Linked DNA regions of Homo sapiens: region 2 is linked to region 1. The links are contacts of gene promoters, found by promoter capture Hi-C in blood cells and fetal thymus (Javierre and others, 2016). All regions are on one chromosome and are shown on one strand. Each heading gives the region's core, a stretch centred on a gene start or on the middle of the fragment in contact. The rest is flanking DNA. Distances are from core to core; before and after follow the strand shown.

What was found. The method cuts DNA at HindIII sites, captures the fragments that hold promoters and counts their contacts. A CHiCAGO score of 5 or more calls a contact.
Region 2: a contact is called between a fragment that was not itself captured here and the fragment with the promoter of PLA2G4A in region 1, in 1 of 17 cell types (monocytes). The highest score is 5.6, in monocytes.

Annotation. Positions count from the first base shown.
Region 1 is chr1:186,825,491-186,831,270 of GRCh38, reverse strand. PLA2G4A (phospholipase A2 group IVA) reads right to left here and starts at 2,322. Exons shown (of 18, transcript NM_024420.3): 1 at 2,236-2,322. The HindIII fragment of the contact is 13,801 bases long and covers 1-5,780 here.
Region 2 is chr1:186,939,582-186,945,361 of GRCh38, reverse strand. PLA2G4A (phospholipase A2 group IVA) reads right to left here. Exons shown (of 18, transcript NM_024420.3): 10 at 5,268-5,382. Among named protein-coding and RNA genes, the nearest start is that of PLA2G4A, 110 kb to the right of the region's middle. The HindIII fragment of the contact is 283 bases long and covers 2,215-2,497 here.

The DNA of each region.
Region 1 (5,780 bases), core at 1,073-3,572:
AATTAATCATTTTATATTATCAGAAAACTCCAAAGTTTTAAGAAATACTGCATTTTCATGTAATATGAATTGTCTTTGGGGATTTGTGAACTTCTTAAAGGTGTTTTTAAATTTGTGTGTGTTGGAATGGCATAATGTGCATTATTCTAGGGAGGGGTCCATACCTGTCACAAGATTATAAAAGTGTCTTTGATGGAACAAAAACAAAAGAAAGAAAAAGAAAAGAAAGAAAAAGTAAGAAAGAAAGAAAAAGAAAGAAAGAAAGAAAGAAAGAAAGAAAGAAAGAAAGAAAGAAAGAAAGAAAGAAAGAAAGCAAGCAAGCAAGCAAGCAAGCTATACAATCTGGAGCAAGAAGGAGGAAAAAACTGATGGTAAATAAAAGCAAACAAGATGAATGGGAACCACAACTAATTCTGTCTTCCTCTTTTTTATTCCTGGAACATAATTTTAATATGTAGATGATTCGATTTTATGACTGCTTTCTAAGTACCAGCACTAGAAAAGATAATGGGTTAAAAACATAAGCCAAATAACCTCTATGGAATGAACATTTTCAGTTGCTAAAAATCTATTTAATAATTTTTCTTTTCCTAATTAAATGTAAATGCAAAAATGCAAAACACTTCAGAATAACTTACTTTTTTTTTTTTTTTTTTTTTTTTGAGACAGAGCTTCGCTGTTTTCGCTCAGGCAGGAGTGCAATGGCGCGATCTTGGCTCACTGCAACCTCCACCTCCTGGGTTCAAGCGATTCTCATGCCTCAGCCTCCCAAGTAGCTGGGATTACAGGCACCTGCCACCACGTCCGGCTAGTTTTTCTATTTTTAGTAGAGATGGGGTTTCACCACGTTGGCCAGGCTGGTCTCGAACTCCTGCCCTCAAGTGATCCACCCGCCTCGGCCTCCCAAAGTGCTGGTATTACGGGCATGAGCCACTGCGCCCAGCCAGAATAACTTACTTTTTAAAAATATGTTAAAAAGATGCAATGTCTTATCTCAAAAAATATGCTTCCCCTAAGGGAAGTTTGTAAAACTCCTTTGAGCAAATGCACATTAAACACTTCTCTATGCATTTCACAATTATTGCTTAATTTAAAATTTAACTCTTCCGGAGCTAATGAAAGAAGTAAATACCTGTTTCTTATCCCAACCTCTAACTTGATTGGCAAGGTGTAGGAACCTGTAGAATGTAACTTTAAAATTCTTAACAGAGCTTGTTTCACTACAGTCCTCTACAAATATCCCTTGAGCCACAATTCTAAATTTAAACAACAAAGAGAAACAAAAATACAAATCTTCTTTGAACTCAAATTATATTGGCAAATATAACTTTAGAATTGACACCCATTCAGACAGTACGCCTCTAATACTCTCCATCTGCCTTAGCTGAATAAATGCTGACATCATCAACCCATATGAGGAGTATTTCTTGTTCTGGTTTTGGAGGTGAATTTATTTTTAAGACTAAAATGATTATAAATTGTAGGAGACAGATACATTCATCCACTGATACTTTAAAATCAAATACCTTTTTTTTCTGTTTTTTTTGGAAACAAAATTACTGAAATATCCACACTCAAAATTTAACTATGTAATTTGATCAAATCTTTTCTAGTATCTAGTTTTGAGATTTTTTTTTTCTCTTGGCAAGCCAAGTAACTTAGGGGAAGGGTGGATCATCAGAACACCAGTCCGTTTACAGTTAATTTTTCAATAATCCTCTTTCTTTCGCATAATTCTGCAAAATATTGACTAGCCAGGAAAGCGTCCCATAAGTAACAAAAATGACCAATTTTTAGAAATTAAAAGTTAAGTGAGTCAACAAAGTCTCTCGCTAAAGATCGCTAGGGCTGTCAAACAGCACAGCATGCTGCTGCTCAAGTTTGGGGATCAGTAACCATTGGGTGTCATCACGTGGAACGCTAATAAGCGCCACCTCACCGCCGTTTTGAATGCTAACTTTCTGGGATTCCAACCCAAAGAAACACCTTAATCTTTGACTCCACAGTGCATTTAGATCCAGGAAGGCAAATCTGCGTGGGTTTGAAGAAAATTGAGGTCCCTAATCTGTGTTTCACTTCAAAAGGCAGAGGACATGCTGACTTTTTAAAGCAGCGAGGTTTCCCCTCCGTCCTTTCTTCCTTCCAAGTAAACTACCAAGTAAAAGCTAAGGAGGGTGGGAGAGAGAAGTGGAGCAGAGGAAGAATAAATATATTGCTTACAGTTCCCAGAGTTACCTGAGAATCTTCAGGCTCCTCAATGCCTCTAGCTTTCAGTCAGGATCCTTTTTCAGCTCCGGACTTAGAGAAAGTCTTATCCTGAGTAGGAGGGGCTAAAATGTGGGCTGGTCTCCTTGCGCTTTTGCAGATGTTTTAAGGTGGAATTAAAGGGGAAGAGGGAGAACGCTCTCTTCTCATAGAAGCTAATATTGTAAATGTAAATGCTTAGTTATTAGAACCAGGAGTTTGAAGTCAGAAAATATGCTTAAATAATATGTAAATTAATCAGTCCTAAATTCCATGAGTGCTGTTGTGGATTTCTGTGTGTGTGATGTGTGTGTGTGTGTGTGTGTGTGTGCGTGCGCGCGTCTGAAATTGCTACTTGTCCTTAAGTAGTAACTACTTCCTCCTTTTTTCCAAAGGAGAACAAAATTGAAAAGACAGTGAATAACCTAGAGCATTTTTGCATTATTTAAAAAGGCAAAGTTTATAACAAACCCCAAATATAAAAATGTACATTTTTAAAAAATGAGTATCAGACCACTTTAAAAATCAAATCTGTTTAAATATTTCCACTCCAGACTCAGAACACCTGTGTTGATAATAATTTCTTTGTAAATTTAAGATTAAAGGCATACCAAATAATGTAATATATATGTTGAGATTTAGGGAAGAAAATGAAATCAGGTTGAATTCCAAATTTGCAGTGTAAATCCAAATACCTTATAGCACTGTAATGAAGAAGGTGCATTGTTTAAATGTACCCAAATTCCATGAGAATCAATTCATGTCTTTAAAGATTGACATGTTCATTTAGTATATCTTGTTTTTCAAACACAGGATCTTGTTTTTGCCTTTAATTAAATACTGAACTCACTCTCCTAACTCTCTTACAATATTTTCAAAGAATATAATTTCACTAAATCTTCTGGAATATCTGCTTTCTGTAGCCCAACATTCAACTCTTATTTGTTTTTATTTTTTTCCCCTAAATTCAACCTGGCATATTATAAATCTCTCTTTGAAAAAAAAAAAAGCCAGTAATGTCTTTTTTAGGAAGGATAGATTTATAATAAACATTTTTCGGGCTGGGCACGGTGGCTCACGCCTGTAATCCCAGCACTTTGGGAGGCCAAGGCGGGCGGATCACGAGGTCAGGAGATCGAGACTATCCTGGCTAACACGGTGAAACCCCCGTCTCTACTAAAAATACAAAAAATTAGCCGGGTGTGGTGGCGGGCGCCTGTAGTCCCAGCTACTTGGGAGGCTGAGGCAGGAGAATGGCGTGAACCCGGGAGGCAGAGCTTGCAGTGAGCCAAGATTGCGCCATTGCACTCCCGCCTGGGCCACAGAGCGAGACTCCGTCTCAAAAAAAAAAAAAAAAAAAAAAAAAAAAAAAAAAAAAAAAAAAAAAAAAAATTTCTCTTTCCAAAGAAATCCCTGAATTTCTAGAAAGGAGGTGTATGTTAATTAGAGGAGCAGAGAGCACACTGGTAGTTTTCATCTCTTTCCCCCAGACACAACTGGTGAAAGAAAGAATCTATACTGCAGGGCATGTTCGTTCTAAGACTCTGATAAAAAAGACTCCCTGGAAAAGCAGCTTCACAGTGCTTGCTTATAGAGCACAAAAAAAGTGCTCTAGTGCTTTTTTGATAACAAAAAGTTATAGCTCTCAATATTTCCAGATGATATCCAATAGTGTGTCATGCATTAAAGATAAAAAATTTATTTAAACGCTTTTAAAGAAAATGTCATTATATGTCATGGTTAGGGTTAATATATACGGGGAGAAGTTTGTCTCTTTCCCGCCTTACTAAATGAAGCTGATTTATCTCCACCTTTATAATGAATAAAGGCTGCTGCAGGTATGTCTTTTCCTCTCTGGAATCAGTGCAGACCAAATCCCATTTACCCATTTTGTGGTTCTATGGCCTCCTTATCTCATCTATTTTGGCTCACTACTTGTGATCTCACTGTTCACATAGACCCCTAGGTGGATAGTACAAGTTCAGATTTGCCGTCTTCACTTTGCCCAATTTCCTCCAAAAATATTTTCAGCATTGACCTACTGACTTCAAAAACCTCTGCTTCCACCTTAGGTAAGATAGGCCCTGACTTCCATAGCGTGCTTCAGTCTATAGGATCAATTATGTCTGAAGACCCCTCTCCACTTGGTTTGTCCATCAACAAAGATTAGTCATCTGGGACCCATCTGAAACTGAGAAATATCATAGCAGCTTCTTTGAATCCAATTCTACCATTTGCACTATTTCCAGCTAATAAGTTTCATGCAGTTTGCTAGTAATTTTCCACATCTTTAAAATTTTAGAAAGAGAATAATAAGCTAAGAACTAGATAAGTAATCAAAAGGAACAACCCCAAAACTGGCCAAATTAACTAACAAAGAACACCTACTTGTCAAAAGCCATGGCTCAAAAACCCCAGGGGGTTGGGAGGGGGAACCCTGATGTTTGTATGATTGATTTTTCTTTCTTTCTTTTTTTTAATTTTACTTTAAGTTCTAGGGTACATGTGCACAACGTGCAGGTTTGTTACATAGGTATACATGTGCCATGCTGGTTTACTGCACCCATTAACTCGTCATTTACATTAGGTATTTCTCCTGATGCTATCCCTCCCCCTGCCCCTCATCCCACGACAGGCCCCCGTGTGTGATGTTCCCCGCCCTGTGTCCAAGTGTTCTCATTGTTCAATTACCACCTATGAGTGAGAACATGGGGTGTTTGGTTTTCTGTGCTTGTGATAGTTTGTTCAGAATGATGGTTTCCAGGTTCATCCATGTCCCTGCAAAGGACATGAACTCATCATTTTTATGGCTGCATAGTATTCCGTGGGGTATATGTGTCACATTTTCTTAATCCAGTCTATCATTGATGGACATTTGGGTTGGTTCCAAGTTTTTGCTATTGTGAATAGTGCCACAATAAACATACATGTGCATGTGCCTTTATAGTAGCACAATTTATAATCCTTTGGGTATATACCCAGTAATGGGATGGCTGAATCAAATGGTATTTCTAGTTCTAGGTCCTTGAGGAATTGCCACACTGTCTTCCACAATGGTTGAACTAGTTTACATTCCCACCAACACTGTAAAAATGTTCCTATTTCTCCACATCCTCTCCAGCATCTGTTGTTTCCTGACTTTTTAATGATCGCCATTCTAACTGGTGTGAGATGGTATCTCATTGTGGTTTTGATTTGCATTTCTCTGATGACCAGTGATGATGAGCATTTTTTCATGTGTCTGTTGGCTGCATAAATGTCTTCTTTTGAATGATTTTTCTTTCTTTATGTGGAGTTGTTTTCTGTTATCTTTTTTACTATTTCCAATTCACCTATCTTCTGCTCTAACTATATGAAACTGCTTTGTTTCTGATAAACTTGAGCAGGGTAATGAGGTAGTATATGAGAATTAAATCTGGATAGAAAATGAAGATGATTAGCCAGCATAGGGTACTAAGAGAGAGTTGAATAGGGAATCTAATCCAGATTGCAGGTAAAATCAGAAAATGGCTACCAATCAACTAATTTACTTATAA
Region 2 (5,780 bases), core at 1,107-3,606, 110 kb before region 1:
AGTTTCCGTCCTGGCCTAGATCCCACTCCCTGTGTGATGTGACCACATCCCTCCTAACAATGTTCTATCACATTTTGTCTTGCGTATCCCACTTCACTTCAGCCACACGGCACAGATCTTCTTGCTGTTCCTCAAAGAAGTCAAGTTCATTCCCACTTCAGCACCTTACACTTGCTATTCCCTTCTGCAGTTATAATGCTTGCTCCTACTTAATCTTTATTTTAGGGTCTTTGCTGATGGTCCATTTTAAAATCCCAACATCATCCACCCCTGCCCAACTCATAATTCTCTAACCCACTTCATTTTTTTTTCTAGCTTTTCTCTTTCTGAAATTATAATATGTCTGTAATATCTTATCCAACAATACAAAATCCAAACAATTCAAAAATTCATAAGCTTCTTTGTTACTCATTTGTTTGTAAAATCTAATCTGAATTCATTTAGTGAGAAATCAGGCTTGAATGTTAGTGGGGGCTCTTATAATTCATTTATCCCACTCAATGTGGATATTTATATATCCTATTGGAGAAATATCACTGATTATAAGAACCCAATGGGGTATTAGGTAATACACAATATGAGTATCTTTATATCTCCAAAATCCAAACATTTTGAATTCTAAAACACATGTCACCAAAGGTTTGGAAAAGGAATTGTGGATCTATATTTATTGTTTGTTCAATGGTAGGTCACAACACCTTCCTTTCATGAAGGAAGTGATGAAATCACAATTTTGATAACATTGTAATTCATTATATGTCAAAGCCAAATGGTACATATATTCTTCATCAGAAAGTGGTGTGATTTACAACGATTTACGTGGAATTTGTGAGACATAACTAGCAATGAATCAGAGGCTGTTAGGAAAATTCCTGTATTCATACAAGTAATTTCCTATCTCTCAATTTCACAACCCTATCATGGGAACTGAGGCATAACAACTTCCTGGTTCCTGCTTTTCTAGCGATCTCTTCTTGATTAGCGCCATGGCCTGGGCACATAGTAACTTAGGCATTCTCAAAAGCTAAAATGAGCTCTGCACCCCTCACTGAAGAACTCACGGTGTTAGTTTTCAACTAATTCTCTCCTGCTGGTGACTCTACCTTTTGACTCCAACCTCTCTCCTGCGCTTCCATGTACTTTCAACTTCCTTTGGGGCCCTTACACTCAGATATTCTGTCATCTCCTCCCACTATACTTACCTAGATAAGAACTCATCACCCTTCTTCCCGGGCCAGCTTACCTATTTCAGTAAACCATGCTATCACTCTATCAAATCCATCATTGCATCACACCGATAACCTTTAGGCCTCTCATATCCATCTATTCTTTTCTTATCAGTATGTCCCTAGTTCCAGGGCCTTATCACAAAAGCACAGTGATATCTCTGCTTCCAGTTTCATTCCTTTCCATTCTGTTTTTATTGGTCACCAAAGTGACTTTTTCAAAAACACTACATAAATAATTTTATTGCCCTGCACAAAAGCATTAACTATTTCCATTATCATCAAAATCAAATAAAAATATTTCTGTCTGGAATTAAAATCATTCCATAACTTGGGACTATTGGTGCCTCCAAATACAACACCTTTTCTTCACCAATGTGTGCATAAGTCCTAGACTAGTTGTTTTTTTTAATAGTGATGCCCAAAACATAACTCTGGCTTCCCTTCTGAGCATTTTCTCATATTGTTTCCACACAAAGGTATCTTTTTACCCGTACTTGATAGATCCTTCTACATTCGACTTAAATCCAAGTTTCATCACCCTTTCTTACAACTATACTAAATCTCTATGACATCTCACCCTTATGTCAGGTCTACACACTTATGTCAGGTCTAGGTATATTATAGGAATTTTTCCATGCTTTATTTTTGTCTCTTTCAATAGGATTATAACTTTCTTGAGGAAAAATACTATATTTGTACTTCTAAAGTGTCTGTCAAAAAATTTAGCATGATGCTAAGTTCATAACCATAAGTTGTAATCCATAAATGCAGTTTATTCACCAGTGGAAATTTTTAAATGAACGTTTTAAGTCCTTTCAGCAATGTGATGTAGTGGAGGAGTCAGGAATTTCTAACAGTTTAAACACCAATGTTTATTTGTTGAAAATTTCCAAGAAATTTCTAAATGAAAGGTGTGTTTAAAATTATTCCAAGAGGAAGGGAAAATATTATCCGGTATTGTTGAAGTAAAATTGTTAATAAAGCTTCTGTAAGCTAATTTGATTATTTGACTTTTAAAAATATAATTCAGAGACTATCTCAACTTTTTCTTCTACACAGCCACTTTCAATCTAAGCATATATTGGAAGAATAAATTACAGACGTGTCTCTATTCTTTTTTTCCCAGTAACTCAAGTAAAGCTACTTGAACACTCAAGACATGTACCTTAAGATGTCTTATCTGGGTACAAGATTCATATAATTAATGTTTAATGATTTTGTCTAAATCTGTTGGAAGACACAGCTCAACCCGCCTTATGACAGAAGCTTAACAATGAAGGTTAATGATGCACCACTCATCTCAGTAGCAGTACTGCAGTGAAGCAGATGTCAAAAGAAGACACATCCAGGTCCAAAGACTACTAACTGAATATAAAACAGCATTTTTTCAGTCTAAAAGAACCCAGAATATCCACTCACCCAAATATTATTTATTCTTTAATTATTTTAGTTAAGTTTTCTTGGAAAATGGCTATTGACTAAAAATTCAGAATAAAATATAACCACCGTGAAAAGTCCAGAACAATCATGACAATAAAAACAAACTTTTATATTTGTATGCCTCTTTATAGTTTTCAGTCTCATCTTATGCATATTTCATATTATTGCCTTAATAGCTCTGGAAGATAAATCTTAGGGTTAATATATTTTTTAAAATAAGGAGGAAAATAAGAATCAGAGATTACATGACTAGCCTGAGGTATTCAGCTTAGAAGTATTGTAAGACAAGGCTTTTAAATTAGAATGTAGTGTTCTTTTGACCATGTAATTCTTTCTGGGTGAAGGATGATTTATTTGGCCATGCAAAAATCTGACTAGCATGCAAGTGTTATAGATCAAACAATTCCAAAAATTTCAAAGCTCCACAAGATAATAGCTATGGCTGGGGGGAAGCAATTTCATTATGGCGCTTACTTTTCTATGTAATAAAGTCTCAACTCTCTACTATGAACCCCATTATAGCCCAAGATGTGTGGTTCCTTGTTGCCATTGAGCACACCTGAGTTATCCCTGACCCTGCTACATGCCCCCTTCCACAATCCAATAATTAAATGTGCCTTTCATATTCAAATCCTATTAATCTTTAAGATCTAGACCTCTGACTTTTCTTATACAGCTTTCACAGAACATTCTAAATTGTTAAAATGTACTGGAAACTTATTATTAGGGCCTGCCATTGTTTACATACTTTGTCTCATTTTTTGGCAAAACATTGTGAGAAGTCTCATCTTCACTTAACAGATGAGAAAACTGGGTCTAACGTAGATTATATAACTTGGTCAAAATGACAGTGTATAGTAACAGTTCTGTACTCTCTTGTGCCTTAACTTCTTTAATAATTATTGTAAATTTTCCAAACAGACTATAAGGTCTTATAGGGTAGGGACAATATATTGTGGTGAGGAAAGAGGAATTCATCCTTAGCGCCCGGCAGACTGCTGCAATCTATATAGACGGTAATCACTATGTACACATCAGAAGTTAGTATGGTAAAATAAAAAGAACAAAGGATTTTTGAAACCAATTTCAGCACTGCTAATTACGTTCTAAGCAGCAATGTGCAAATTATTTAATCTTTATGAGGTTTTCGTTTTTCTTCTGTTGAACAGAGCTAAAAATACCTACTCCCCGGTTGTAGGAAACATGGAATAAAATAGCAAATGTGATAAGTGCGTTCTGAACCATAAGCATGACAAACATTTTAGCCAATATTTTAATAAACATTTGAATGAATGGATCCCATGTGTGCTAATTTTTGTAAACTATTCAAAATTTTTGTCTGAGAGGCAGTTGAGAGAAAAGTGAAAATTACAAAAGGATTCTGGATATATATGTGCCAATTACACACCACTCATGATGGTTTTTTAAGCTCATGGGGTGTCTGAAGTCACTGAGATAATTTTCCTAAAAATAGAATGAAGCCCACCAGCTACAGTCAGAAATGCTATTGTGCTGCAGACTAACACTGACAGAGGCCCCCCCAAAAGTATGCTGTTGTGCCCTTTTTTTTTTTTTTTTTTGAGACGGAGTCTCGCTCTATGGCCCCGGCTGGAGTGCAGTGGCATGATCTCGGCTCACTGGAAGCTCCTCTGTCTCCCGAGTTCATGCCATTCTCCTGCCCCAGCCTCCCGAGTAGTGTTGTGCACTTTTATAGTATCCAAGAAGCAAAGCTTGAGAAGAAACAAGTGTTCACTCCTGAGATTTTAACAAAATGAGGCATTGGTTCATCAACCACTACAAATATACACTAGAACTTTTTAGGTGCTGAATTATAAAAATTACAACAGCACTTTGAATGGCAAACATACAGTTGGCTCTATATACCCATGAGTTCAGCAAATTCTATCAACTGCAGATCAAAAATATTTTTTAAAAATTCCAGAAAATGTAACGTTGTTGACATGTACTGTTTGATCTGTACTAAACATGTACAGACTTTTGTTCCTTGTAATTATTCCCTAACAATATAACAACTATTTACCTAGCATTTACACTGTATTAGGCATTGTAAATAACCTAGAGATGATTTAAAGTATACATAAGAATGTGTGTAGGTTACCTGCAAACACTGTGCCATTTTGTATGTGGGGCTTGAGCAGCCACTGAATTTGGTATCCACAGGGGGGCCTGGAACCAATCCCCCATGAGTACCAAGGGAGGACTGTAGATCATATTACCCAATTAATGAAAAGATAACCAACAAGTAAAACAATTTGCACTACCTAAAAGCACTAGGCATATTATTTTGTCAAAAGTTACTGAGGAGTGGATAATTAATTGACTGTATTGATTGATTGTATCCATGATTTTTATTTTACTATAGTAAATGAAAATACATTAGTTACTAGTTTCATGGAATATTCTCTACAACCAGGAAATCATCTCACTTAATATTTTCTTATATCTTCAAAGTCTTATGTTACAGAAAATACATTAAAATAAACAACTGAAATTGCTTATGACCTTCCTCTAAGGAAAACCATGGGAAACTGCAATTCAGAGGTTCCAGGAAGTGTTCTGAGAAAGGAAACAGCATACCTGCAAACATCAGCTCTGAAACGTCAGGTTTGACATGAAGACAGGTGAAAAGAGGTAAAGGGCATTGTGCAGTATTAACTTTTTCCTTCAAACTGCTCAGAGTAGTATTCATTCTCTGTCCACAGAAGAAAGAAAAAGATGACTTTAAATTTATAAACAGACACAGAAAGAATGCTATTCAAAATAGTACTTCCAATCAAAATCTTATAACTTTATAATAAAAATAAGTCTTATTACTTCTAGAAATTACTAGGTCCTGAATGAACAACAAAAAATAAGCTCTATGGAAGTAACTATCTTCATTTAAAAAATAATCATAACTCTAGATTATATGTCTACATCTGAACTGGAGAATGAATTAGCAACTGTGGAGCCTGGAAGAAACTTAGCCCCTGGACTCCCTGTCACAGGCGCTCCTCTGCTTTATCTTCAACGAAACATCAATGCAATCATGCATCAAGCGAGTCTGTTCTATGCGATCCCCTTCCTTTCTTGACTCTATTCAGGCAAACT